Regions from separate parts of the Homo sapiens genome. Here region 2 is linked to region 1. Evidence: promoter capture Hi-C in human tissues and cell types (Jung and others, 2019). All regions are on one chromosome and are shown on one strand. The core of a region is centred on a gene start or on the middle of the fragment in contact, and the rest is flanking DNA. Distances in the headings are between cores, read along the strand shown. Region 1 holds the start of OTUD6A (OTU deubiquitinase 6A). Region 2 has its middle 9.7 kb from the start of EDA.

Region 1 (2,910 bases), core at 147-2,646:
TTCCCAGGCTCAAGCTATCCTCCCACCTCAGCCCCCAGGAGTAGTTGGGACTACAGGCACACACCACCACACCTGGCTAATTTTTGTATTTCTAGTAGAGTTAGGGCTTCACCATGTTGCCCAGGCTGGTCTGGAACTCCTGACCTCAAGACATCCTCCCACCTTGGCCTCCCAAAGTGCTGGGATTACAGGCGTGAGCCACCGCATCTGGCAAAAAAAAAAAAAAAAAAAAAATTCCCCAAAATTAGCCAAGTATGGTGGTGCCTGTAGTCCCAGCTACTCAGGATGTTGAGGCAGGAGGATCACCTGAGCCTGAGCCCAGGAGTTTGAGGCTGCAATGAGCCATGATCACGCCACTGCATTCCACCCTCGGTGACAGAGCTAGACTCCACCCCCCCCAAAAAAAAGAGAGAGAAAATAGGCAAATGACATAAACATTTTACTGAAAAGGATATGGCATAGATGACAAATGAGCACATGAAAAAAGGAACATCATTAGCCATCAGGGAACTTCACACTTATCAAAATGGCTAAAATAAAAACTTGTGACTGGGCACAGTGGCTCATGCCAGCACTTTGGGAGGCCGAGGCGAGTAAATCACCTGAGGTCAGGAGTTCCAAGACCAGCCTGGCCAACACGGCGAAACCTCGTCTCTACTAAAAATACAAAAATTAGCCGGGCGTGGTGGCAGGCGCCTGTAGTCCCGGCTACCCGGGAGGCTGAGGCAGGAGAATCGCTTGGACCTGGGAGGCAGAGGTTGCAGTGAGCTGAGATTGCACCATTGCACTCCAGCCTGGGCGACAGAGCGAGACTCCGTTCCCCGCGCCCCCCCCTCAAAAAAAGAGTAAACTGAAAGGACTGTGTTTGCAGGAATGTAAGGAAATGTCCTTGTTCTGATGCACAAGTTAATGGTTCCCTGGTGAAGGGACCTGAAAGACTGGAGAAAAACGCACTGCTTCCTCAACAGTAGGGGCAATGCCAAGTCCAGGGTTAGAGCACATTCAGCGGTGTAGTATCTGTCATGTGGCTGTCAGGCATGGCTACTGCCTGCATTGTGTGCAGACTTGGAAATGAAGTCGGCTCTCAATCAGCGAAAGACTCTACAGGCCCAACTGCCACACACATTGCAGGAAGGCCATATTTGAATCCCGCCAAAAACCTTTGCTGTGGGGTCCAATGGGCTCATACTTCCGGTCTCCCAACAGCCAATCCTAGCACTGGGCATTTGCGGGTGGCCCAGCAAGTGGCCTAGCACTTGCGGGGGCGTGGCCATGGAGACACAGTGACCAAAGGCAGAGAAGAATGCGAATGGGGGAGGGGAAGCGGAGGCTGAGGTGAGCCTAGAGCGGCGGTTAGAGCCGGTGAGGTGAAAGAGAGCGACCGTTAGGACAGGCTGAGGACTTCTGGTCTGTTCGGTACTTGAACTGCCAGCAAATTTCAACTCCCGCTTGCCATTCAACATCATGGATGATCCGAAGAGTGAACAGCAGCGCATACTGCGCCGCCACCAACGCGAGAGGCAGGAGCTGCAGGCCCAGATCCGGAGCTTAAAAAACTCGGTCCCCAAGACCGACAAGACGAAAAGAAAGCAGTTGCTCCAAGACGTGGCCCGCATGGAGGCCGAGATGGCTCAGAAGCACCGGCAGGAGCTGGAGAAGTTCCAAGACGACAGTAGCATTGAATCTGTCGTCGAAGACCTGGCCAAGATGAATCTGGAAAACCGGCCTCCCCGCTCCTCCAAAGCCCACAGAAAGAGAGAAAGAATGGAGTCCGAGGAGAGGGAGCGCCAGGAGAGCATCTTCCAGGCTGAGATGTCGGAGCACCTGGCCGGCTTCAAGCGCGAGGAGGAGGAGAAGCTCGCCGCCATCCTGGGAGCCAGGGGTCTGGAGATGAAAGCGATCCCGGCCGACGGCCACTGCATGTACCGCGCCATCCAAGACCAGCTGGTGTTCAGCGTGTCTGTGGAGATGCTGCGCTGCCGCACCGCCAGCTACATGAAGAAGCACGTCGACGAGTTCCTGCCCTTCTTCAGCAACCCCGAGACCAGCGACTCCTTCGGCTACGACGACTTCATGATCTACTGCGACAACATCGTGCGCACCACGGCATGGGGAGGCCAGCTGGAGCTGAGGGCCCTGTCGCACGTCCTGAAGACCCCCATCGAGGTGATCCAGGCCGACTCGCCCACCTTGATCATCGGGGAGGAGTACGTCAAGAAGCCGATCATCCTGGTCTACCTGCGCTATGCCTACAGCCTCGGCGAGCACTACAACTCCGTGACACCGCTCGAGGCCGGCGCCGCCGGGGGCGTGCTCCCGCGTCTCCTGTAGGCCCCAAGGCGCTGAGCAGCCCCGGGAAACTGTCGCCGTCGCCGCATCTCCTCAGTAGGCTCAGTTTATTTTCCCCTTTTGCTTTTCTCTGTTTTTCTTTTCCTTCCTTTTAATCAAAACTACCCGCCCCCGCCCCGCCCCCGCTTTCCTAACCTTGCTGCTTTCACAGGGTGGGAAACGAAATTCGAGGGAAATTCCCCGGAAATATGAGGGAAATCTCTGCATTGCACCACCAGAGGGGCATAAATTTGAAAGTTCTAACCTCTTCTTGCCCTTAAGGGTCTTTTACCTCCCTCACCAACTAAGATTTGGTCATGTTGCGTATAACTTCACCACAAAAATGGAAATATTGGCCGGGCGCGGTGGCTCACGCCTGTAATCCCAGCACTTTGGGAGGCCGAGGCGGGCGGATCACGAGGTCAGGAGTTCGAGACCAGCCTGGCCAACATGGTGAAACCCCACCTCTACAAAAAATACAAAAATTAGCCGGGCGTGGTGGCAGGCACCTGTAGTCCCAGATACTCGGGAGGCTAAGGCAGGAGAATCGCTTGACGGGAAGCGGAGGTTGCAGTGAGCCGA
Region 2 (2,910 bases), core at 254-2,753, 460 kb before region 1:
TTTCATTTCCACCTCAAATTTCAAAATTTTAAAAGTACATTTAGGGGACAGCTTGGCAGCTGTTTCTTTAAAAATAAATGTTACCAATTAAAGTATAAAGGTCAGTTGCACAGAGCCTTTTGGTGGCAGGATTCTGAAACAGTCAAGGCAAGGTGAGGATTTGCACTCAGCTGTTGAATACAGGAATGAGGCTGGATAAAATGGAGGAATACCTCAAGGCAAAGTACAAACCAGGAAAATTATTAGAGACTGGTAGGGAATGAGGACTAGGAATCAGAAGCTAAGCCAGTGATTTCTAGTTGATTTCCTGTTTCATGCTTTTAGCTCAGCAGAAGTAAAATGAAAGTAATTCATGTGTTTTGAAAATGCCTTAAGAGTGTCAGGTACAGATATGTAAGGTAGTAGCTTGAGGGTAGAGGGAGGAGCAATTGGTTCTAGTCCAGCTCATTCATTAACTTAATGGGCATGATTCTTGGCCCTTCTAGGCTTCAGTTTCTTCTTTTGAAATAGGTTGGACTGGACTCGGTGGCCTCCTGAGGGTCTTCCAGTTCTGACCTCTTGAGTTATGTATAAAAGCTGAGGGAAAAAAAAGCATGTGAGTTTTGGAACTCTGGGGGTTAAAGTAGAACTCGCTAAACTTGGGTTGTCACACCTAGTACTGCAGACCTAAGGCCTTTGGGCCCAGGAGCCCAAGATCTGGTGGGTAGTAGTGACGCTTAGGTCATATAATTTCTCGGGGCTCCCATCTCCTTCCCTCTCAGCAGGCACTCTCCTTTCTCAAGCAATTTGGCACATTCCTAAGGGCAACTTCCTTCCCGCAGGCATGGGCTTGGTGTCTCAACTCCTGCTTCTGTGGGTCCTGCTTTCTGTTGCTACAGAAAGCTTAGTTTCTAGTCTTTTCACAAAGGAGTCAGTTTGTGGAAGCTTATTCTTCAGTAGCCATTGCTGTAAAGCACATTTCAGTCAAGCAAAGTCTGTATTCCCAGTGTTAATCGAAGATAGGTCACAATAGGAAAACAAAATCCCTAAGCTGACTGAACTGAACTTGTATGATAAAAAGGGTTAAGATAGTGGTCAAGACTGCTGTAGGTCTATGACATGCTGGATTTGGCCTCCTGGGTATTCATTTATTAGTTCACACAGTTCACTGAAGTTCTGTGAGCTGTGAGTGCCTATAGCCAGTGCTCAAAAAACTCTTTGAGAAGTGGATGGATGTATAAATGAAGTAATGAATGGGCAAGTGAAAGAATCAATATAAAACCCTCTGGGAATTTTTTGCTGAAACTGTTATTTTGTAGTAGCACTTTGCAAACCCCCTCTGCTAGCAGGTACCCCACTATTTTCTCCTTGGCTCTACCTCACGTAATTTCTTGGGTCTCCATTTTCTACTGCTGCAATTTTCTGCTTCAGTTTTGTGATTTTTCGAGATCTAATTTGACTTGGCTGCAGTATCATACCTTCCCATTGGACGGTAAGATCATATTGGAATGAGGAAAAGGTACCGCCATCTAGTATCTATTAGATTCTAACTTTAAAATTACAGAAAACTCCTTATTCCTTAGGTTTCTGAGTATGCAAAATAAATTGTTCAGCATGGCATAATGAAAAGAATGTGGGCTTTTCAATCAGGACAGATTTGGATTTGAATCTTAGCACTACATCTACCAGCTGGGGGACATCAGACACAGTACTTCACTTTTCTCTGGGCCTGTCTTTTTTTTTACATGTAGGAAAATGAGCAATTTATCTTGTAAGGTTGTTCCTGAAGATCAAATGAGATAAACATATGTAACTTTGCCAAACATAGTGCCTGGCACATAGTAGGTACTCAATACGAGGTAGCTATTATCTTAATATCTTACATTTGTATAGCATTTTATATTTTACAAATTCTACCATACTTTCTTTTACTCATCCTAATTCTAGCATCATTATTTATTAACAGAATATATATATATTCTATATATATTCTATATATATATATATACACATTGATATCATAAGACTGAAGATCAACTTGGAGCTCATCTTCATACACCAACTGCTCACCTTGGACCTAGGCTTCCATGATTCCCATCCTTCCAGGAGCCAGACTGTTACCCTGTAGCGTCCATTCCTGGATTTTTACTCATCAAGTGTTAAGCAGCTTAGAAGCGTGCTTAAATTCCAATAGGCTATTAATTTAGCATTTCTTAGCCCAGGACTGCTAGTTCTCTGAGTTGTTTAAAGGAAAGCTTTCGAATTGGGGTGATTCACATTTTTTTGTGCAATGTTTGAAGACTCTAAAACTGTTAGGACATGGCATTTCCCAAATTATAAGAGTGTGCCTGTGAATCTGGTCCAGCTCAGAGGTGTAGTGGGAGGAGGGACAAGGCCATTTAAAAGCTTTGCTGCTATACTGAATTTGTGAAATAGAGTCCCTATTTTCCAAATAAAAATGTTCTTATTGTACATTAATTGTATTAATTCTTTGTTTTGTCCACAAATGTATTCCCAGCACTTAGACTGGTGCCCGGCACATAGCAGATACTCTATGAATGCTTACTGAATAAATATGCTATATAAAATATCCAAAGTTAAGTGTATTACCTGAATGTAATCTAGTTGTGGGCAGCTGGAGTCATTTTGGGAAAGTTATTATAACTCTAGATTTTTCCAAGCCCTGTCACAGGTTGCTTATCACAGAACCAAGATTGGATCCTAGAGAGCCTTACTCTCCAGGGCTCAGATCCCTAAGATCTGTTCTCTAATTCTCATGACCAAGAAATGCAGACTGTGGGCACAATAAGCTCTTTGGCCAGATGGAGCAGGCAAATATAAGTGTAATGAGTAAATATGACAGGTTTAGTAAGAAAAAGAACCCTAGGCTGAGTCAGGTACACTGACTGTGTAACCTTGGATAAGTCATTC

The links. The method cuts DNA at HindIII sites, captures the fragments that hold promoters and counts their contacts. A contact is called where the count stands out against the background at its distance.
Region 2: a contact is called between a fragment that was not itself captured here and the fragment with the promoter of OTUD6A in region 1, in 2 of the 25 tissues and cell types used here (mesendoderm cells and thymus).

What each region holds. Positions count from the first base shown.
Region 1 is chrX:70,061,061-70,063,970 of GRCh38, forward strand. OTUD6A (OTU deubiquitinase 6A) reads left to right here and starts at 1,397. Exons shown (of 1, transcript NM_207320.3): 1 at 1,397-2,910. The coding sequence starts at 1,465. The coding sequence ends at 2,331. The HindIII fragment of the contact is 14,829 bases long and covers 1-2,910 here.
Region 2 is chrX:69,604,931-69,607,840 of GRCh38, forward strand. No RefSeq gene overlaps it. Among named protein-coding and RNA genes, the nearest start is that of EDA, 9.7 kb to the right of the region's middle. The HindIII fragment of the contact is 5,616 bases long and covers 1-2,910 here.